2 separate regions of the Homo sapiens genome follow, and region 2 is linked to region 1. The links are contacts of gene promoters, found by promoter capture Hi-C in blood cells and fetal thymus (Javierre and others, 2016). All regions are on one chromosome and are shown on one strand. Each heading gives the region's core, a stretch centred on a gene start or on the middle of the fragment in contact. The rest is flanking DNA. Distances are from core to core; before and after follow the strand shown.

Region 1 (4,870 bases), core at 2,076-4,575:
TCGCACCACTGCGTTCCAGCTTGGGTGACGGGGCGAGACTCCGTCTCCAAAAAAAAAAAAAAAAAAAAAATGTGAATCTGGCCATCTACCCCCTCCTGTCTCCATGTGGAGGAGGGTAAGACATAGATTCGCTGTGGCATCGGGGCCCCCAGCGCTGATCCATGTACTCCTAGGGGCGTGCTTAGTCTGAGGCCGTGCAGTAGAGGATGGGTGCTCTTTCATGGGAACTGGTGTGTCTGACTTGTGCTAAAGCCCCAGGGGTGGCCACTTCCTGGGGGAAGGGGCTCCTGATTCTCGAGCTTGATCACCCCTGAGTCTGAGTTGGGTGCAGCCTTTGCCAATGGGCCTGTGAGCACTGTGCTCCTTGCTGGGGCCTGGGGCTGCCAGCACCTACTCCCCACAGACACTTTTGGGGTGTTGGGGTATGTTGCTGCAAGGCCTACCGCCGGGGCTTCCGCAGCTGCTCAGACACAGGATAGTGAGTCTGACTCAGACCTCCTGCTTGGGGTTGACCCGGTGTCCCCTCCCAGGCCCTCAGGAAAGCAGAGAGCTTGAAGAAATGTCTCTCTGTCATGGAAGCCAAAGTGAAGGCTCAGACTGCTCCAAACAAGGATGTGCAGAGGGAGATCGCTGACCTTGGAGAGGTAGGGGCGGCTTCCCTCCCTCCGTCCTCAGGGCCTGGTGCATGAAACATGCCCCGTCTTCAGGAAATCATCTGTAGTCAGTCAGGCCCTGGTTCTTGGTGGAATGGGCCTTTGGGCTGACTTCTGTTGTCCTGTAGCCTTGTAGCAGGGACCCCATGGATCCTGTCCTTGGACCCTGGACATTCCCTGCTGCTCCCAGTGCTGCTAGCAGGAGAGCTCTTCCCAAGCATGTATGGGCACTGGGGTGGAGGGATTTGGGGAATGGGCTAAGGCTGGCCCCTGCTTCCAAGCCTGCCTGGTATTTATTTGCATTTCAAGCTGCCAGGAAGCTTATCACAGGCTGTTCCCAGCCTGGTAAGGACCGGGCCTGATTTGGGAGCCCAGCTTTCTGCTGCTCCTTTCTCTCTAGCCCTGCTTGTTTCACCTGCCACAGCTGCTCCTAAAGGGACTGGTCTCAAAGCTTTCCTTGCTTTCCTTTCCAGGACACTAGTCAGGGAGGACTTGGGTTCGGGTGGGGTGGGCTGGACCCTGACATCCCAGCAAGTTGTGGCCCAGATTGAGATGGTCGTCTATTGGTTCCAGGCCCTGGCCACTGCAGTCATCCCCCAGTGGCAGAAGGATGAATTGCGGGAGACTCTCAAATCCCTAAAGAAGGTCATGGATGACTTGGACCGAGCCAGCAAAGCCGATGTCCAGAAACGAGTGAGTCCTGGCAGCACCAGTGGCCAGAGTGTTTCCTAGGCAAAGGCTGGCAGAACAGCCAGGGGTTCGGGGCCTGGGCTTTTGGTCTGAGCTGCTGTTCTGGACTTTTTTCTTGCAGGTGTTAGAGAAGACGAAGCAGTTCATCGACAGCAACCCCAACCAGCCTCTTGTCATCCTGGAGATGGAGAGCGGCGCCTCAGCCAAGGCAACCCAGGGGCCAGGGTCCCCTCCCCTAGGGCTCATCAGCTCTCTGGTGGCTGACATGTGGCCTCTGTGGCTCTGAGCGAAGTGGTTGCCTAAGGGCCCACGGTCTGGGATTGAGATTGGGAGGAGCAGCAGCTCCCTGCATGTGGGAGGCATACCTGGGCCAGGGTAGGGGCAGGGCCCGGCGCTGGGGTCCTCCCCACAGGCCCTGGGCACAGCCCCTGCTCTGGGAAGGGGTAGGGGTGGGTGGCAGGCCTTCTGAGGGCTGCAAATGCTCACACTAGTGAGGGTCCCTGCTCCAGCACCGTGGCCTGAGCCAGGTCCTCCCCACAGGCCCTGAATGAAGCCTTGAAGCTCTTCAAGATGCACTCCCCTCAGACTTCTGCCATGCTCTTCACGGTGGACAATGAGGCTGGCAAGATCACGTGCCTGTGTCAAGTTCCCCAGGTCAGCACCACCTCGCACCAGTGGGAAGTGTTAGGTCTTAAGGTTGTTGGCTGAGGCCTGTGTGTGTACAGCCTGCATTCGAAACAGCCTTTCTGCCCACCGGTTGGTTACCTTTGCCAGTACCCCTTACCCAGGCCTTCTTATTGGTGAAGACATCTGGTTGATACCTGGCTTTGCCACTCTGTCCTGTCCTGGCAGTGGCCATGGCCGCCCCCTGTACCAGCCGTAAAGTCTGTCTCGGCCTCCAGCAGTATCACCCAGGGCAAGGAGTGGGTGATGGCTCCTCCATCCTTTCTTTCCCTGCATTCCTCCCTCAATCCCATCTTCTGTGCTGACTCCCCCTTCCCTTCCTGTCTTCTAGAATGCAGCCAATCGGGGCTTAAAAGCCAGCGAGTGGGTGCAGCAGGTGTCAGGCTTGATGGACGGTAAAGGTGGTGGCAAGGATGTGTCTGCACAGGCCACAGGCAAGAACGTTGGCTGCCTGCAGGAGGCGCTGCAGCTGGCCACTTCCTTCGCCCAGCTGCGCCTCGGGGATGTAAAGAACTGAGTGGGGAAGGAGGAGGCTCCCACTGGATCCATCCGTCCAGCCAAGAGCTCTTCATCTGCTACAAGAACATTTGAATCTTGGGACCTTTAAAGAGCCCCTCCTAACCCAGCAGTAACTGGAACACACTTGGGAGCAGTCCTATGTCTCAGTGCCCCTTAAATTTCTGCCCTGAGCCCTCCACGTCAGTGCCATCGGTCTAGAACCACTAACCCCGCATTGCTGTTGATCGTCACGCTCGCATCTATAGATAACGGCTCTCCAGACCTGAGCTTTCCGCGTCAGCAAGTAGGAATCGTTTTTGCTGCAGAGAATAAAAGGACCACGTGCAATACTTAATGCCGCATGATCTCTATCCCTCTTCCCAATAGGGGCTGGCTCTTTTGACAGCCTTTGGCGTCTGTAGAATAAATGCTGTGGCTCCTGCTGGCTGCTGTGGTGTTCACCTAGTCCAGCCCCAGAACCCAAAATTTTGGGAACAGCCCCTAGGGCTGCCTCAAACGTCTGTGGAGGTGGAGGCCAAATAGGTGGGGTGACTTGGAGCAAGGCGTTCATAATTCAGTAGATGAGGGGTGGAGGTAGTTGGAAGCAGAGAAGCCTTTCTTGGAGCTGCTCTCCCCCCTCCCTTCCAGCAAGATGGATGGATCCGGCTACCCTGCACAACTGGGACCGGGCCGTTCTCCCTCCGGGCCTCCAGGGGCGCTGTAGTGCCTCCCGCCGCTCTCTCGACAGCCCATGCGCAGCCGCGCGTCTTTAAACAACGGAAGAACCAGTGGATGCGGCAGGGCGTTGGGCGGAAGGGGTTCGCACGCCAAGAACCGCCATGCCTGGGGATCACCGCCGCATCCGCGGCCCTGAAGAATCGCAGCCGCCGCAGCTGTACGCGGCCGACGAGGAGGAGGCGCCCGGCACCCGCGACCCAACGCGGCTACGGCCCGTGTACGCGCGCGCCGGGCTGCTGAGCCAGGCCAAGGGCTCGGCCTACCTGGAGGCGGGAGGCACCAAGGTGCTGTGTGCCGTGTCGGGCCCGCGACAGGCCGAGGGCGGCGAGCGCGGCGGCGGCCCGGCCGGAGCAGGCGGCGAGGCCCCGGCCGCGCTGCGCGGTCGCCTGCTCTGCGACTTCCGCCGCGCACCCTTCGCGGGCCGCCGGCGCCGCGCTCCCCCGGGCGGCTGCGAGGAGCGTGAGCTGGCGCTGGCGCTGCAGGAGGCGCTGGAGCCGGCTGTGCGCCTGGGCCGCTACCCGCGCGCGCAGCTCGAGGTGTCGGCGCTGCTGCTGGAGGACGGTGGCTCGGCCCTGGCCGCCGCGCTCACCGCCGCCGCGCTCGCCCTGGCCGACGCGGGCGTGGAGATGTACGACCTGGTGGTGGGCTGCGGCCTCAGCCTCGCGCCGGGGCCCGCGCCCACCTGGCTCCTGGACCCCACGCGGCTCGAGGAAGAGCGCGCCGCCGCCGGCCTCACCGTGGCGCTCATGCCTGTGCTGAATCAGGTGGCCGGGCTGCTGGGCAGCGGCGAGGGCGGCCTGACAGAGAGCTGGGCGGAGGCCGTACGCCTGGGCCTCGAGGGCTGCCAGCGCCTCTACCCCGTGCTGCAGCAGAGCCTGGTGCGGGCCGCCCGCCGCAGGGGCGCCGCCGCCCAGCCCTGAACCAGAAGCCTGAGCAACTACGGACGCAAGCCGAGGACCGTGCTGCCGCCGTCCACGAAAAGACCCGCGCCATCGGCCTCCAGTTTGCGTCGAGAATTCCTGGAAGGGCCCTGATATGACTGTGGTTGGACTGACCTGACTGCCAGATGGTGGGACTTGGTCTGGAGCAGGGACTACTTGGAATGATAAAGGCAAAACTCAACAGCCCCTGGAGCTGCGCTTGTGGTGGAGCTGGACCCTGAAATTACCTGGACCTTTTTTTTAGAGACAGGGTTTCTTTCTGCAGTCTCAAACTCCTAGCCTTGATTGATCCTCCTGCCTTGGCCTCCCAAAGTGCTGGGACTACAGGTGCATGCAACCACACCTGGCTAATTTTCTTTTCTTCTTTCTTTCTTTTTTTTTTTTTTTTTTTTTTGATGGAGTCTTGTTCTGTTGCCCAGGCTGGAGTGCAATGGTGCAATCTTGGCTCACTGCAACCTCTGCCTCCTGGGTTCAATCCATTCTCCTGCCTCAGCCTCCCAAGTAGCTGGGATTACAGGCACATGCCTCCATACCGGGCTAATTTTTGTATTTTTAGTAGAGATGGGGTTTCGCCATGTGGGCCAGGCTGTTCTCGAATGCCTGACCTCAGGTGATCCACCCGCCTTGGCCTCCCAAAGTGCTGGAATTACAGGTGTGAGCCACTGT
Region 2 (4,988 bases), core at 742-3,241, 78 kb after region 1:
AGGTCGCCACTGTGGCCACCTGCCTTGGAGGAGTTCATGGGAAGCAGCCATGGGGAACCCTCCCGCCCCCACCACCCTGCCCTGGCTCCCTGGCCTGCTAACATGGGCTGGGGCTGCTGGGGTCCCAGACAATGGAGGGCAGCGTTTCTGAGCCTCCAGATGACAGTCCCAACCCCGCAGCCCCAGCCGGGCTGGTGGGGAACTCTATACCCCCGACCCCCGGCCCCTGCTGAAAATGTGGAAAATGTGGACGAGTGAGTGAGCAGAGAACATGGGCAAGGCCCGTCCTCGTGGCTCAGATAAGCTCAGGAGGAGGCGCTGGGTCCTTGCCGCACAGAAGCCCCTCCCCAGCCCAGCACGACCTTCTCCCTCCCTGGCCCGGCCGCCCATCCTGCAGGGCTCCTCGTGAAGCTCCCCTTCCCTGGAGGAGGGGATCCGGCTCCTCCTGTGGCTCCTGGTCTCTGTGGCAACAAGATGCCAGGGAAGGCCCAAGGTCCTGCCCTTCAGGCGAGTGGGAGCCAAGGGGCCCGACCTCCTGAACTGAGGGTGGGGGGTTAAGAAACTGCAGAGACCCCCAGCAACCAGGGCCTCCGTCCCTCAGGGGCAAGGTGGCTGGCTGTGCCTGCCCACCCTGGTCAAGTGGAAGGGCACCTGGACAGGCGTGGCCTCCTGAGCCGCCCTCTGGGGTCCGCGCCTCCGGCCACCCCCCTGGCAGAGCCCAGCTGGGTCGGGTACTCACCAGCCTCCGCATGTCAGCCGCAGGGGGCTGGACCCAGCTGCGCAGGCGGTTGTGCAGGGAGAGGAGCAAGAAACTCTCCTTCCTGTTCAGGGCTGGGGTGGAGAGAGAAGGTCAGGCAGCCCGAGGATGGGGGGACCTGAACCCAACACACGGCAGAATAAGCATGTGTCCCTGCCCTTGGAAAACAAGATGGGAGAGGAGTGTGGTGGGTGCAGGGGACGTGGGGCATAGCAATGGAGCGAGGCTGAGAGAGAGACCAGGTACAGCAGGCGTGGGCTGAGTGCTGGGGTTGGGGTGGCGGGAGGGAACAGCGGTGCGGGCTGGGTGTAGGGGCCAGCCCTGGCTCCCGCAGGCCCCTGTCTGGGGCTCCTCCGGGCCACGGATTTCTCCAGGCCCCAGCCACAGCGCTCCTCGGCGTTCCTCCTTGACCCCAGCCCTGGTCCTCCTTCCTCCTCCTTCCTCCCCAGTCCAGCATCCACCCCTCACCGCCCCCGGGCTGTCCCAGGGCTTCCTCATTAAACCACCCGCACGGCCTGGGGCTCAGGCCTGGGACCGGGCTTCCAGAAGTCTCCTAGCACCCACTCCTCAGAGCTCATAATGGTGCCTCCACCTACCTCCTCACCAGGTGTCCCTTACCTCCGGCCATCGGAGCCTGCTCCTGCAGCTGGGGTGGCCACACCTCTGCCCAGGCGGTGCCAAGGAGGGCCAGGAGCACAGCCAGGAGATGCCCCCGGCCAGGGGAGGTCTCTGGATGCAGCATGGGTCTGTTGGGCCCGTCAGGCACTCCGTGCACAGCCTGGCTCAGCCACCCGGCTTGTTTCTCAGGCTGGATGGAGCTATTCACAATCTCCAGGAGTCAGGCTGGGCTGGTGGACAAAAGAGGGAGGCTGGTGAGTGAGTAATCAGTGTGTCCAGACAGCCTCCTGTTGGCGCTGGCATGAAAAGAGACAACTCCGGGGGATGCCTGCCTGCTCCGGCCTCGGCCTGGCCAGCCCGCCCCCGACAGCAGGCAGAGTGGCGTGCACTGACCCGCGGCCCCTGCTAATCATTGTGGGATTATTAGCACCCTTGGGGAGCCCCCAGAGACCCCGCTGATTGGCCTGCGGACATTCCAGTGCTGCAGATTAGTGACCGATGGCCGTGTCCTGGCTGGGACAGTGTCCTCCGAGCCCACTGATGGCTTCCGCTCCCCAGCCCCGGGCCCTGGGAGGAGGACCTCGGCTATGGTCCTTCTGGTGAGCAGAAACTGGGCAAGACCCCAGGGGAGTTCTTTCCTTTCTTGGGAAGCTCGTCCCAACCCCCCAGCCATGAATTAAACATAGGCAAGAGGTAACCGCACACCAGAGGGGTGCAATCTGTGGGCTCAAAGGGGGGTGGGCTGAGGCCGCACCTGCACGAGGAAAAGGGTGCCTTAGGAAAGTCTGTCTGGGCAGGGTCGGGGGCTGGGCCCAGCCCCGGTGCCCACCACCCTCACCAACGTGACTACAGGCCAGGGGGGGAGTGAGGCAGGAGGAGTCAAAGCAGGCGGGGACCAGAGCACGTGATGCCCTGGGCTGACTCCAGTCCTGCTGGGATCACGTCCGCCTCTAGAAAAACAGGTGGCGTAGCAGGTGGGCAGCACGTTGCCATGATGTGCCGTGGCCCGGCCGTGGCTGGCGTGATCCCACCAGAGTGAGCTGGAGCAGATCTGCACCATGGGCCAAGTTTCTCAGAAAATACATAGCTTCCTGTGGGCTGCAGCCTAATGCCCACGTTCCTCTCGGGGAAGACCAAAGGTTATTCAACCAGGGCAAAGGACAGCCTTGCAAACCAACTACGTCCTCCTTCTGGAGTTTGTGTGACCCCTGGCCCCTGAGCCCACACCCTCTCGGAGCGGGGTTCCAACTCCGTGGAAGCTCTGCTGAGATGCAGGTAGGGTTGGCTTTCCTGGGGAAACACCAGTGGAATGTGGCTATCGTCATGGGTGCCAGGGATGGGGATGAGGCCAGGCATACAGGCCATGAAGGCGGTCTGGAACTGCATGTCCCCCACAATACCTAGGGGCTCAGGAGTTTCTTCTCCCTCAAACAGAAACCCAGCACCCTCAGGGTCACTGCGTGTGGGTCCTAGCAATGCTTAATAGCTACCTGTTTTTTGATGTATTTTTATTTTTATTTTTTAGACAGTTTCACTCTGCCACTCAGGTTGGAGTGTTATAATCTCAGCTCACTGCAGCCTTGACCTCTTGGGCCCAAGTGATCCTCCCACCTCAGCCTCCCAAGGAGCTGGGACCAGGTGTGTGCCACCATGCCTGGCTAATTATTATTATTTTTTTTGGTAGAGACAGGATTTCATCGTCTTGCCCAGGCTGGTCTCCAACTCCTGGGCTCAAGGGATCTTCCCACCTTGGCCTCCCAAAGTGCTGGGGTTGCAGGCATGAGCCACCACACCTGGCCGAGCCACCTGTGTTTATGGAGCTCACAAAGCCTGTTTGCATGTGTGAGTTCAAGTTATTGCCACAAGAACCTGGTGCAGTAGCAGATGGGATGCCCGTCGTGTAGATGAGGAAACGGGCTTAGTGTGTCTAAGGGGCTTGTCCAAGGTCACTCAGCGAGTGCATGGAGCATCCCAGCTAATCCAAGGTCTCTGCCTTCCCATTCCCAACGCTTTAATTCACATCCTGATCTTTCCCAGTGCAGTTTCCACAGCTCTGCTATGCCGGGTGATAAAAGACCCACTTCCTACAATTGGGCTTCCATGGCAAACATGGCCAGTTGACCCATATAGTATGATGCCAGGCACTTGGGACAGGCGGGAGAAAAAGATATTTTGGGGATTAGGGTGGAGCAACTTTTGAAGGGTCCCATGGCCCTGGCTCACTGCAAGAAGAGTCCCAGGCCGGGTGTGATGGCTCACGCCTGTAATCCCAGAACTTTGGGAGGCCAAGGCAGGCGGATCACTTGAGGTCAGGAGCTCGAGACCAGCCTGGCCAACATGGTGAAATCCTGTCTCTACTAAAAATACAAAAATTATCTGGGCAGGGTGGTGGGTGCCTGTAGTCCCAGCTACTCGGTAGGCTGAGGCAGGAGAATTGCTTGAATCTGGGAGGCGGAGGTTGCAGTGAAGCAAGATGGCACCACTGCACTCCATCCTGGGCAACAGAGCGAGACTCTGTCCCACCCCCGACCCCTCAAAAAAAAAAAAAAGAGTCCCAGGAGAGCAAGGTTCATGGGCCAGAAGAGAAGCTGAGTGGATAAAAGATTAATGAGACACTGGAAGACCTAGGCTGGAACCGACACGCTGTGTGACCCTGAGGATGGCACTCCCACTCCTGAAACTCAGTATCCAATGGCGTAGAGCTGGGATGACCCCTCTGCTGGGCCCCTAACCAGGGCATTGCAACTTGGTTTCCATGGTACTCCCTCCTGGGTTCAGACTTTTTAGTGGAGCCTGCTCGGTGGCTGGGGTGGGTTTGGAGAATGGGCAGCCTCATTGTTGCAAGGCAGCTTTCCCCAGGTGAGGCTACTACAGGGTTTACATCCACCACCCAGATTGTAGGATTCACATTTTGCTATATTTTCTTTATCACCTGTGTCTCTATCTATCCCACCCCTCTCCAGCTCATGCATAGCTGATACCTCTTCTCCCAGTCTACATTTGAAGGTTATAGCGTTTGAGTCATTTTATCTCTTCCTGAAGCAGCTCCTTTCTTTAAAGCCTTGAAATCTTGTTGATGGTCTCAAAAAACAAACAAACAAACAAACAAAAAAAACATTTAACTCTAGGAGAGTTGTGGCCACATTTTCTTTTAAAAATTACATGTCCAGGCCAGGCGTAGTAGCTCACTCACACCTATAATCCCAGCACTTTGGGAGGCCAAGCTGGGTGGACTGCTTGATCTCAGGAGTTTGAGACCTGCCTGGGCAGCATGGTGAAACCCCGTCTCTAAAAAAAATACAAAAAATTAGCTGGGCGTGGTAGCACGTGTCCATAGTCCCACCTACCTGGGAGGCTGAGGTGGGAGGATAGCCTGAGCCAGGGAGGTCAAGGCTGCAGTGAGCTGTAATCGTGCCACTACACACCAGCCTGGGTAACAGACCAAGATTCTGTCTCAAGAAAAAAAAAAAAATTAGGCCAGGTGCAGTGGCTCATGCCTGTAGTACCAGCACTTTGGGAGGCTGAGGTGGGCGGATCACCTGAGGTCAGGAGTTTGAGACCAGCCTGGCCAACATGGCAAAATCCCGTCTCTACTAAAAATACAAAAATTAGC

The links. Contacts are between HindIII fragments. The CHiCAGO score rates a contact against its expected background, and 5 or more counts as called.
Region 2: the fragment with the promoter of CLEC18C here is called in contact with the fragment with the promoter of EXOSC6 in region 1 in 1 of 17 cell types (endothelial precursors); the score reaches 7.3 in endothelial precursors.

The regions. Positions count from the first base shown.
Region 1 is chr16:70,250,395-70,255,264 of GRCh38, reverse strand. It overlaps EXOSC6 (exosome component 6), which reads left to right and starts at 3,325. Exons shown (of 1, transcript NM_058219.3): 1 at 3,325-4,870. The coding sequence starts at 3,365. The coding sequence ends at 4,183. AARS1 (alanyl-tRNA synthetase 1) reads left to right here. Exons shown (of 21, transcript NM_001605.3): 17 at 531-644; 18 at 1,227-1,346; 19 at 1,465-1,551; 20 at 1,884-1,997; 21 at 2,359-2,967. The coding sequence ends at 2,544. RefSeq lists enhancers at 1,784-2,284, 2,919-3,108, 3,149-3,198 and silencers at 3,579-3,668, 3,799-4,118. The HindIII fragment of the contact is 9,148 bases long and covers 1,107-4,870 here.
Region 2 is chr16:70,170,790-70,175,777 of GRCh38, reverse strand. It overlaps CLEC18C (C-type lectin domain family 18 member C), which reads right to left and starts at 1,991. Exons shown (of 13, transcript NM_173619.4): 1 at 1,827-1,991; 2 at 1,376-1,605; 3 at 740-831. The coding sequence starts at 1,499. LOC400541 (a long non-coding RNA gene) reads left to right here and starts at 2,330. Exons shown (of 3, transcript NR_126007.1): 1 at 2,330-2,650. The HindIII fragment of the contact is 29,094 bases long and covers 1-4,988 here.